2 separate regions of the Homo sapiens genome follow, and region 2 is linked to region 1. The links are contacts of gene promoters, found by promoter capture Hi-C in human tissues and cell types (Jung and others, 2019). All regions are on one chromosome and are shown on one strand. Each heading gives the region's core, a stretch centred on a gene start or on the middle of the fragment in contact. The rest is flanking DNA. Distances are from core to core; before and after follow the strand shown.

Evidence for each region. Contacts are between HindIII fragments. The study calls those that stand out against the background at their distance.
Region 2: a contact is called between a fragment that was not itself captured here and the fragment with the promoter of FAT1 in region 1, in 1 of the 25 tissues and cell types used here (mesendoderm cells).

What each region holds. Positions count from the first base shown.
Region 1 is chr4:186,718,986-186,725,136 of GRCh38, reverse strand. It overlaps FAT1 (FAT atypical cadherin 1), which reads left to right and starts at 1,281. Exons shown (of 27, transcript NM_005245.4): 1 at 1,281-1,473. RefSeq lists enhancers at 1-838, 1,339-1,840. The HindIII fragment of the contact is 8,530 bases long and covers 1-3,832 here.
Region 2 is chr4:187,232,814-187,238,596 of GRCh38, reverse strand. The region is part of intron 1 of LOC107986335 (a long non-coding RNA gene); the gene reads left to right. Among named protein-coding and RNA genes, the nearest start is that of LINC02374, 34 kb to the right of the region's middle. The HindIII fragment of the contact is 4,020 bases long and covers 665-4,684 here.

The DNA.
Region 1 (6,151 bases), core at 32-2,531:
ATGGAGTTTGCATTTGCTGGATGTGTGAATCTATGTGTATTCCAACTGGTGGGCAGGGAATATAGGGCTACGAATCGGCACACTCATCTTGCAGGCATTATTTTTCCTTCCCAGCCACAACCTGCTAGACACCTTTATTATTATTATTTTTTCCGGTCACCTCTAAGATGGCTTATAAGGTGACTGCGTTAACTTTGAACCCAGGAAATTCTCTTTCACACTTGACTGCCCTGCCGTTCCCCTCCCCGCCAAGCTCCCCTCACCAGTCCCAGGGAAATCGGATCTCTTTGTCTTCCCAGTGTTAAAATGCCTGAGTCCCACAAACTTTCCGAGATCAAGTCCGCCCTCTTGTCCGGGCTGCGTCCCAGCGCCTCCGGCCCTCCGGGCTTCGGCCGAGTCCGCCCTGCGCCGAGCCTGCGGCTGGAGCCCTGCCCGCACCGGGGATGGGCTCCGCGCCCGGGACGCTCAGGCTGGGCGCCCGGCGCGGGGAGTTCTCGGAGCGGGCTTCTCGGCGCTGGGGCTTCCCCTCTGCCTAGGAACTTGCAGTTGTCGGCCTGGGGTCACGCTTTGGGGCCCCTGGGGCCGACTCCCGGGCTAGGAAGCCCGCGGGACGCCGCGACTGCCTTTTGTCCCACAGGCCTGGGCGTCCGGGGTGTCAGCGGGGGAGGCCAGGCGCCCGCGGCGGGGAGGGCCTGGGGTCTAACTCGGCAGAAAAAGGTCGCGGGGGAAGCGTTTCCATTTTCTGGGGATTGAAGGAGGAAGTAGATTCCGACCTAGCTGCATTCCTTTGGAGACCTGAAGGACGACTTCAGCCCACCAAACCTTCGCGGACCCAGAGCCGCGCCATTCAAATGCAGATTCAGGGGCTCCCAGAAGGCTATGGAAAAGCTAAAGGGATGCCTCTGGGAAGCTTTCTCATTAGGCCCCAGCCTTTTTTTTTTTTTTTTTTTTTTAGCTAAGCTAACGTTTCCCTTTCTTGGCAGGGAGCTTTCCCCAATTCCTTGCACAGCGCCTGTGGCTGGCCGTAACTAACCTCGGCATCACAAGCCTCGCCCTGCCCCTCGGAGCCGCGCTAGACCCCGCTGGGCGCCTTCTCGTCTCCCAGCACGGACCTGGTGTTCGCAGGGACTGGGGCTCTTTGGGTCCGGGCGGGACTGCGTGGCCGAGCCCGCGGTCCCAGAGCCGGCAGCCGGGGAAAGTGGGCTCGAGTTTCCGCGCCCGAGAAATGAGCGCCGGCGCCGGCGGGCGGGGCCGGGGCGGAGGGATCTCCTGCGCTCGGGGAGCGTGAGGCGCCGGCGCCGAGCTGGGCGGCCGGGCGCGGGGAGAGGGCGCGGGAGCGGCTCGTGCGGCAGGTACCATGCGGACGCGCGAGCCCGGCGAGGGCCCCGGCAGGCCCGGTCCCTGCTCGGGGGCGCGCTGAGACGGCGGGTGAGCTCCACGAGAGCGCCGTCGCCACTTCGGGCCAACTTTGCGGTTAGTTCGCTGGGGCGCGGGCCGGCGGGCGGGGGCGAGAGCGTGCAGCGCGCTGCGGTGCGGACTCTGTGGGTGTCCGCCCGGTCCCCGGCTCGGGCTCCGGCGCTGCCGAAAACGGATGAGCGCGCGACTTCCCGGAGGGTGGAGTGACTCGGTCCTTCCCAGTTGGGAAATTCAGCACTGGCTAGGGGGGTCCCGGCGGCGGAGCGGGAAAAGGAGGCGACCGCGCGGGACCGATCCGGGGCCATTGCTGGGGTCCGATCCTTTCTGACACGCCGCCTTCCCTCCGGGAGCTCGCCGGGCTGCGCCGGCCTCGCGGTCTCCTGGGGCATCCCGCCGTCTGCGAAAGACCCGCTCGCTGAGCGGTGCACGCGGGAGGCCTGCGCGGGGCTGCCGGGTCCCTGGGTCTCTGGGTGTTTGCGCCCTGCAGGAGCGCTGCCCGGAGGTGCAGATGCAACCGGTGGACTGCGGAGTGAAGGGCTGCGAGGCTGCATTTCGGGGCTGAACATCTGCACAATGTGCGGTTTGTCAGTGTTTTCTGTCTTCTCTGGAGGAGGAACTTCTAAGATCTTTTTAAAAGAAAGAGTTTTTGGTCCTTCATTGCCTTTAAAAAAAAATGCTTTCTTTTAGAGAGCCAGCTTTCTGCTGTGTGTTAGATTTTTTTGTTCCCGCTGATGTGAATTGCAAGGCTTTGGAAACAAGGACGCAATTGTATGAGTTAGGAAAGTAAACTCATAAATATTTTCTATGCAGTTAAGTTTTTTTTTTTGTCTGAACTGTGGTTTCATTAAGTGGCTTTTGTTAAGCAATTCCCGGGTGCCTGATAGAGGCGATTTTTTAAAAGTGGATATTAACAGTGATTATTAGTATGAGAAAAGATTGAAAAGAAAATGACCTTCAGATATTCATTTCCTTTTCAAAAGCAGATTCTTAATGCTTCGTATATTCAGATACAGGTTTCGATAGTTTAAGAAGGTATCTGTGTGTGAGAACTAGGTAATGGTGATGTTTTTCACACTATTCTTAATGAGTTTGGTTATGCTGTCCAACACATCCAGTTGTTACAGGGACGTTTGAAAAGGTGTTTCTCCAGTTAATAGTTAATTGTGATATTTGTCTTTGTCTTTTTGTCTTAGGAAGACAGCTCTGATTCCACAGTTAGAATTATTCCTTTGTATTTAAGATGTAAAAATACTTAAAGCACTATGTAATTTTTTAAAACAACAATTGGTATAAGCCTTGAGTGATGCTAAACATGGCATTTAACAAGCTCAAGGTAAGGTTTGATTTGAATGAAGTTTGCATTTGTATAACCATTTTTTGAAAAATGAACACCTTAAATGAGCCAAATTCTTTGGCACTCTGGAAAGAAGTGTGGTTGTTAGAGGACTTTATAAAATCATTTCGGGCCACCTGTATATTCATTTGTCTCTTTTGAAGTATCCCCGTTGGGTTCTCATCATGTTAGTAGATCATTTAAATCCATGGTCCGGACAGGTGCCAACAGAAAAATGTTTAAAAATTATGGCCGGGCGTAGTGCCTCACGCCTGTAAACCCAGCCCTATGGGAGGTCGAGGCGGGCGGATCACCGGAGGTCGGGGGTCCGAGACCAACCTGACCAACATGGAGAAACCCCGTCTCTACTAAAAATACAAAATTAGCGGAGTGTGGTGGTGCATGCCTGTAATCCCAGCTACTTGGGAGGCTGAGGCAGGAGAATCGCTTCAACCCGGGAGGCGGAGGTTGTGGTAAGCCGAGATCGTGCCATTGCAATTCAGCCTGGGGAAAAAAAAGAAAAGAAAAAGAAGAGAAGAAAAATCTTTAAAAATTATGCACAAACTAATTCTGTTTTCATTCCCCTGATCATCCTCTACCTTTCCATTGCCTTTAGACTTTGCTTTGAGGTCCCTTTGAAGCAGTCGTTTCTTTGAATGTTAGAGGTGGATAGGATCTTAGAGATTATGTTTTAACACTTTACCCGCTTGCTTTCCACCCAAGTTTGGCTGATTTTACGTAGAATCAATCAGCCAAATCAAATTAGTACATTATTATTGCATTAGATTCTGTCTCAGTGGCATAATTTGTAGCCTAAAGGACCTGATTTAATAGCAGGGAGCCGTAAGGCTGGATGTGCTGTTTAATCTTTATGAGTGGGATTTGCGCTAGATAATTGTTCTTTTGACCAAATTATGTAGAAGTTGAAGCCAAACTCTATCTTTTGGTCTCACTTAATTGTTCAGTTTGCAAGTGCTTATTTATCCTTAGACACTGGAGAAGAGTTTTTGAAATGAGTGATATACATCAGTTAAGATCAGGAAGTTGCCATTTTCTCATACCTGAGGGGAACTTTTCATTTCAAAAATATATTCTGATGAGGAATCTGCATATTTCACTCTTTTAAGTTTTTTAAGTCATCTTTTACTGTAAGTCCCAGATTTAAATACATTGCCTGAATTCTTGCTTAATTCCAAGGGTTCATTATGTATGTGAAGATAAGTCTATAAAGTAAAAATAATAAAGGCTTCTATACACTGCTTAGGAAATATTAGTCATGATTTAATCTGTATCCTTCATAGAATATTAAGGTTAGAGCTTTGTGATAATCTGCAACACAGACACTGATCTGGCATTATCTATAGCCAATTTTGAGGCAGCGTAAGGTGGGTGGTGACCTCTTTCTGAGCTATTGGAAATGAGTCCTCTACAGAGCAGCCACCTGCAGTGTTGTTACCAGCCTCGTGGTTGTGCCTGGATTTTCTGTTAATTTGAGAAGGATGGATGTTTTATTTTCCTATGTTATCCCTCTCTATATCCCCTCCCCAACACAGTCCTGCCTCACATTTCTCACTCTTAACGCTTTATTCATCTGTCCATTTACCAATCCAACAATAGTGGACCTCCTCTGTGTCAAACATTGGGCCAGACACAACATCTAGTGCTGAACAAATCGTGTTTCCTGCCCTCAAGCAGCTCGTAGTCTGATAAGGGAGAGGACAAGTACACAGTCTCTTATAGACCAGTGTGATAAGAGATCCATTCAGGTCAAGGTGGTCCATAGCAGCACCTCAGTGAGCTGGGGGATCTGGGGCAGGTGGATTTAGGATAATGTGAGTTCTGAGGGAAGTGTGAATCAGAGGGGAACAATTCAAGCAGAGGAAATGATGTGTGCAAAGCAAGTTATAGAAAGCATAGTGTGGCTTGTGGTGTGATGAGTGGAGAGAAATTCTGAAGACCTCACCGTACCATGTTATCTTAGGAAAAGGATTGGCTTCTTTTTTTTGTCTAGGTAGAACATAGAGAATCTTGACTATGACTTAAATAATCTTATTAAAAAAGGGAGGATTGTTTTTATGAGGCAGAGGTTAAGGAGAGAGAAAAAGAAAGAAACGTTGAAGAGAAAGGTGAAAACAAATAAGCTGTATGTGAGGAGTGGAGGGCAGGAAACAAAGAAAATAGTAATGTTTGCATTATCTTTCGGAAGGGAAGAGGTCAAGATGTTACATTACTTTAGAGCCTTCACCACTAGGTGGTGTTATTGGCTCAAGACAGCTTGGTTACTGAACTTGTTGCAAGTCTGGGAAGTATGCCTTTTTGTTTTGAAATAAGAAGTAGTGTTGGGAAATTAGGAAATTAGTTAGAGGTTAGATTATCAAAGGTCTTTAATGCAAGGTTAAGAATCATATACTTAGCAGGCTAAGGGGAAATACTGAATATTTTCAAGCTAAAGAATAATATCACAAAGAAGTTTGAATAGGTTGACTGGGATTGGGGGCAGAAAGCAGGAATACCAAAAGACTGTAGGAATACTCTGCATGAACAAAATACCCATTCTAACTAGGTGGTAGCAGCAGAAATGCAAAGGGAACCATTTTGAGAAATTGAGAAAGAAATGTCAAGTTTGGATAACTTTTGAGAAATGAAGGTTTGAGAGCCAGGAGGCTGTAAAGATTTTAGTCCATCCTTCAATTTCTCGAATACATAGAGTCGAAAGGATTAAGCAAGTTCCTTGAATTCACACAGTTGATTAGTGACAAAGCTGGAGCTAGGTTCCACATTTGATGTTCTCCCAACCCCTTCCTTTTTGTTTGATTTGTTAGTTTGCAAACTTGGTTGATTTGGGAAGTGGTGAGATTGGAAAATAACTGGAAGAGCTGTTATTTTGCAATGGCGAAAGGGTGAAAAGTCTATATAGTTGTCCCTTGGTCTCTAAGGGAGGTTTGGGATTTTATACCCAAATCTGAGAATGCTCAAGTCCCTGATATAAAATGGGGTACTATTTATATTTTTACTGTTTTATTGTTTATTTTAAAGACGTTCTCAACCTGAGGTTGGTTGGATCCATGGATGCAGAACTCTTATATAGTGAAGGCCAATCGTATAACTTAGGTTTGATGGTATTTTAGGAGGAATGTTACGAGGTGTTTGAGAGAGGTTAGAGCTGAAATTGCAGATTTGGTGCACTGATCCTTCATGATTTGAGGCAGAGTAGATGAGATCTTTAAGGGTGGTAATAAATGCATGTGGAGGAAGAGTTGGAAGACAAGTTTGTAATGCCAGAGTTGTAGGTGAGTCAGTGTAGAGTATAAAAGAGTATGGAAGAGAATCAGGAGAATGTTGTCATTCATTTTTCATACCTGTGGATTGCCTCTTTGTTTTGGGGGACTCTGTGACCGAATG
Region 2 (5,783 bases), core at 1,425-3,924, 510 kb before region 1:
TCCACTGCCCATCTAATGAATTGTATTTTTAAAGAAGCTACCTAAATATCTAGAAGGGCAATGAGTAATTCTATCAAAAGGCTTTCTATCTGGATGAATGGAGGGTGTAGGGGCAGGTGAAATAATGAGAACTAAATTCCCTCTCTTATCACCTTATGGAAACAACTTCTAACTCCATCTAAGTGGAAGCAAAGGCCTTGTGGGTTCTTTCCTGCCTTTGGACTGTAAGTTGCACAAAAATATATACCCTTGGAAGAGTATGATGACAATGACAGACAACAAGACTGAATACAAAACCATTTCTGCATAATTGTCAAACAGTTATTTTTTATTTACAATTCCTATTAGGATGTAAAATACATCCTAACTCAGTTCTTTAAAAATTAATATAAAATAGCATATATGCCTTAGGCCTGGTAATCTCTTCTATTAATAAATTTCATTTCCAGGAATCAAGCCATCTTCCTTAGAATATCATCAAAAATCCAGTGGTTTTGCCCCAGCCAGTTCATTAGCTTATGTCCACACATGAACTGGCATCCTTAAAATTTTTATAAATTTTCTCTACAATATGTGTTTTAATCAAGTCTTTTTTTATGACCTAAAATAACCTAAGGGTTCAACTGTCTTTCTTTACATAACATTGGCTGCTCTTCTGGCAAAATCAGAAGTCCTTTTACCCTGTCTTTTTTTTGTGCAGCTTTTCCTTGATGACCAAGATCCCCAGGCTCCAGGAACATCAGTGAGACTTCTACCTGAAGTTGCCCTTTGTGATAATGCACACTCTGGAGTTCTCTGTTATTCAATTTCCCCCCTTGGTAGTTTCAGTAAAATATCATGGTGAAAACCCATCTCTACCAAAAATACAAAAAAAAAAAAAAAAAAATTAGCCGGGCGTGGTGGCGGGCGCCTGTAGTCCCTACTCGGGAGGCTGAGGCAGGAGAATCGGCTTGAATCCGGGAGGCAGAGGTTGCAGTGAGCCGAGATGGCACCACTACACTCCAGCCTGGGTGACAGAGCAAGACCCCGTCTCAAAAAAAAAAAAAAAAATCACCTGCCATTCTTCTGATATCCCCAAGGTTGCGACATTACGGATGCTATCTTAGGAGGCTCCATATTCTGAACCTCCCCTGTGGATTACCTCTCCTCTCTGGGAAACGCTGTGGGCCCTGGTGTGGCTCTGCATGTCACTCGCTGCTGACACTCACCCCAGTCGAAGGAGTTGGTGCTGACAGAGAAAGTGATTTGATTCAGGGTGGAACACAGTCACAGTAGTGATGCGTGGTGTGGATGACTACATATAACGCTTACTGAGCACCTATTGCATGCCAGTGTGCTGAGCTCTGTTCTCCCTCACAGTAACTGAATGGGAATGTATTATTACTCTTCGGTAAATTTCAGAAGCCAGGAAAGAAAGCACAGAGAACCTAAGTTATTTGCCCAACATTCCACACAGCAAGCTGGGAGTGGATATTTTAACCTAGGCAGCGTGGTTCAAGAGCCTGCTCTGCTAGCGATCTTACAAATTGCCCATGGCGTTGTGTGGGGAACATACTGAGATGGCAAAGCTGTGGGCAACCAGGCAAATGAGGATGGATGGGACATTTGGAGTGAACAGAGTTCCGGGCATCCCAGACCCTACAGTTGTTTGAAAAGAATAAAAATTAGCGTGAAGGGGTCATCAAGGATGAACACTTTCAAAATTATAAATTCATTTTACTCAGTCTTGGTACAGAAAAATACAGATGGCTGCATAGTTTATGCTGGTCTATGTACATAACCAGCAAAATAACTAAAGCCCTTGGCCTTTGGGAAGATTGCCATTGTGATTCCAGATGCTTAGATGTGCTATGTGGACTAAGCCAGGCAGAGGCCCTTAGGTGAATTAGTACCATTCTGTGAATCATGTCTCAAACATGTAGACTATGTCCTGTATTTTTACTTATTAAGCCATCATGAAAGATAAAGCTGCAGAGAATTCCCAAAGCACCCATAAACAATGGAAAAAGGCCCAACTGTTGTTTTGTTCACATTTCAGTTTTCCCACATACCCCTCTTCTTCTCAAACTGCAAAATTGCTATTCATCTCCATGTTGACTTCAACAGAATGGGGCAATCTGCAGAGATCATTGTCTTCTAGGAGCAAATAGTAATGAAGCTTGCTATTTAAATCTTTTTTTCCATGGATACACTTGAGTATTTAAATTGCACATTTAAAAGTAATGAGCACTTCGTGCTGTTTCCGTCTGCCTCTAACTGCTCTCTCTCATTATCTAAGAGAAAGCATTGAATTCCGAGCTCCTCAAATGAAATGGAAGAGAATTTTTACCGGTTTTTGTTTTTTATTCTCATAATTCCTCAGTTCTCCCAAGCCTTGCCCAACTCTTTTTTGTGGCTTCCATGCTTTTTTAAAATGACAAACAGCTCCTCAAGCTGCCTCAGCAATAATGCCTTCTGCCTGCTTTTAAAAGAGCTGTCACAATTAGTATACTCACTACATATGGGTTTCCCCTACATACTTCCTCCAAATCAATGATATTAACTTTTTGTGCTGTGAAATTCTTTACAAAACAGTCAAGCTACGATTAGTGTATTTCGCTTGTTGCTTAATGTGTGACTTGCTATTCTGCCAAGTCAATGATTTCCAGTCGGAGGTGTCATCATAAAAAAAAAAAAAGATGATTTAAAAATAAGCTTGCTGATGCTCAGTGACCCAGGCTTTGCAGGGCAGGCTGCACCTAACCATGAGTTCTCCTTTTTAACAAGGATGCACCCTTGGAAATCTCAATTTAGATACAATGCCTGTTTCTCAATTAGATGGTCCTTTTTCCTGCCTCCTTGGGCTGGAGTAATTGAAACACAAGGCTGTCACACGGCCTGTCCAGACTGTGCCCCGAGTCAACAAGTTTGTACTGAACAGTGTCCCTCTGGCTGGCAGTCTGCTTGCCATTCTGCTGTGCTCCCCGGGCCTCCCTAAGCTGGTTTTCCTCACTGCTGCCAGGAGCAACGGGTGGCAGCGCACGTCACAGACTTCCTCTGTGCAGAACGATGATCTCCGCGAGGACACAGATCTGCGCTCCCGAGGAAGTCCAGCCACCCCCTCGCCGCCCACCCCCACCTGTCCTAATGACTCTATATTAAACTATGATTTTTTTCTTAATTAGAAGGTATTTTTAAAAAGCAAATCAAGTGTAAATGCTAGAGTAACTCACTGTTTTTTAAACTAAACTGGTTTATAAAAATTAAAATAAGACATCAGAGAAAATAGGTTTTTTTTTAACAACAAGCAATTAAGGGAGCATGAAACCCTGTTGAAAGCCGTTTTTAAAGAGTTAAACCAAAACTGCATGAGTCTATATTCGACGTCTTAAATATAGATGAGATGGTACTTTTAGATACAGAGAGGAGAAACTCTCCCAGATCTCTTTTTACAACTTGCTCAAAAAGGGATTCATGTTGTAGCTTCGTTAATTTTTTCATCACGTTATTTCATATTGTTGTTTTAAAATATATGCCAACTATATATAACGGATAATATGTAAGAATGATAAAAAGGCTACTACCCATTTAGCCACCATTGTACATTATCAATAGCTTTGGTATTTTATTATGTTGAATTTATCAATACTTATATGAAAATATTAATATTCCTGAACAATATTTAGTTTTGCCTAATTTTAGCTTTTATAATAATAAATCTTACCAAATATAAATGTGTATTTGTGCGCATGTGATTTTCTTTTACTGCTCAGTATTATGTTTTTGAGATGCATACATGTTTAAATATGTGACTTTCATTTGTTTATTCTGGTTTTAGAAAACACCAAATTGTTTCCAAGTTTTGCTTTTGTGAAAATGCAGCTACAAACATTGTTGTATATATCTCTTGGTGCATATAGGCAAGAGTTTCTTTAGCTTATATGCCAAGGAGTGGAATTTCTGTGTTTATAGGTAACGTACGTGTTTACCATTACTAGGTAAAGCCCCAAAGACCGCTGATTAATGGGAGTCACAATCTTCTGAACATTTGTACTATCAGATTTAAATTTGTTTTCCCAGTCTGTTGGTGTCAAATGGCAGCTAACTGTGATTTTTACCTTCATCCTCATGATTTCTAGTGGGATTTAACAACATTTTTTTTCATAGATGTATTAGTAATTCATGATTGCACTTTTGTAAGCTACCTGTTCATATTTTTGCACAATTTTCCGTCGAGCTGTTTGTTTCTATATATATTCAAGTTTATATATTCTGGACCCTGACTTTTATCACTAGTATGTGTTGCTGGTCTTGTGTCATAGTTTGCTTGTTTTCTCACTCTCTTTTTGTGTGTTATGATGAACATGAAGTCCTAATTTTAATGTGATAAAATTTAACCATATTTCCTTTACGGCTAGTGCATTTTGTTCTTATTTGACAATCATGTTGCCACCACCAAGTCATAAATATATTATCATATGTGGTCTTTAACATTTGTTAGTGTTCCTTATTATTTAATTTTTTGATCAGTCTGGAATGGATTTTTAGCTAACTGCTCCAAAACCAATCCACCAATTTACAGTTTCATTTCTGTCATGCATCTATATTTTTACACACATGTGTCTTTGTTTCTAGATTCTTTATTCATTGCATTCAACTATTTGGCTTTTCTTGAATTAATATCCACTATATCACAACTACAGCTTTTTAATAAGCATTGTCTTTCATAGGGGACGTCTTCCTGACCTAATCTCCTTCTTCAGGTGTGACTGGACATTCATGCCCTTTGCTTTTCTATATCTATATTTTAATCTGCTTATTTAGTTTGATGACAACCTATTTTAGAATTCTTCTTGGAAATGTCAATAATCTCTGGATCAATTTTGGGAAAACTGACAAATGTATGATACTGAGTTCTCCCTGCCAATGAAATGGTATAACTTTCTATTTATTTAAGTCTTCTTTGATATTTTTCAGCTAATGTTTTATAATATTCCAAAATAGAAATTGCATACAAAATATACTATTTACAGTGGCAGCAAAAATATGTGATGTCGCTTTTACATTTATTCCTATGCCACATATTTTTGCTGCCATTGTAAATAGTTTATTTTGTATGGAATTTCTAAGCATTATACAGCAAACTTGTTAAACCACATTGTTAATCTCTGTGTTACTCTGTTTTCACGCAGCTGATAAAGACATACCCAAGACTGGGAAGGAAAAGAGGTTTAATTGGACTTACAGTACCACATGGCTGGGGAGGCCTCAGAATCATGGCAGGGGGTGAAAGGCACTCTTTACAGGCAGCAGCAAGAGAAAATGAGTGAAAGAGGAAACCCCGGATAAACCCATCAAATCTCACGAGACTTATTCACTATCACGAGAATAGCATGGGAAAGACCGGCCCCCATGATTCAAATACCTCCCTCTGGGTCCCTCTCACAACATGGGGAAATTCTGGGAGGTACAATTCAAGTTGAAATTTGGGTGGGGACACAGCCAAACCATATCAATCCCAGTGCTGTGTAGATTGTTTTGGGTTTTCTCATTGCTTTAAGGTAAAGAGAGTGTAGAAATGCTTTGGAAAAGGCTGGAGGAAGTGCGCAAGCACTTTAGAGCTGAGATGCACGTGATAAGCTGTTTAACACTGATAAAGAGAAGAATGAGAGCAGTGAAAAAGCCACTGGGGTACCTTCATGTGTGGAAGATGTCTGGGTGAATTCCTTCTAAATTGTCCATTTATCACTCAAGTTTGAGCCAAACTATCCAAGAGCTTTTACCATCAGTTTCTTAATTTCTGC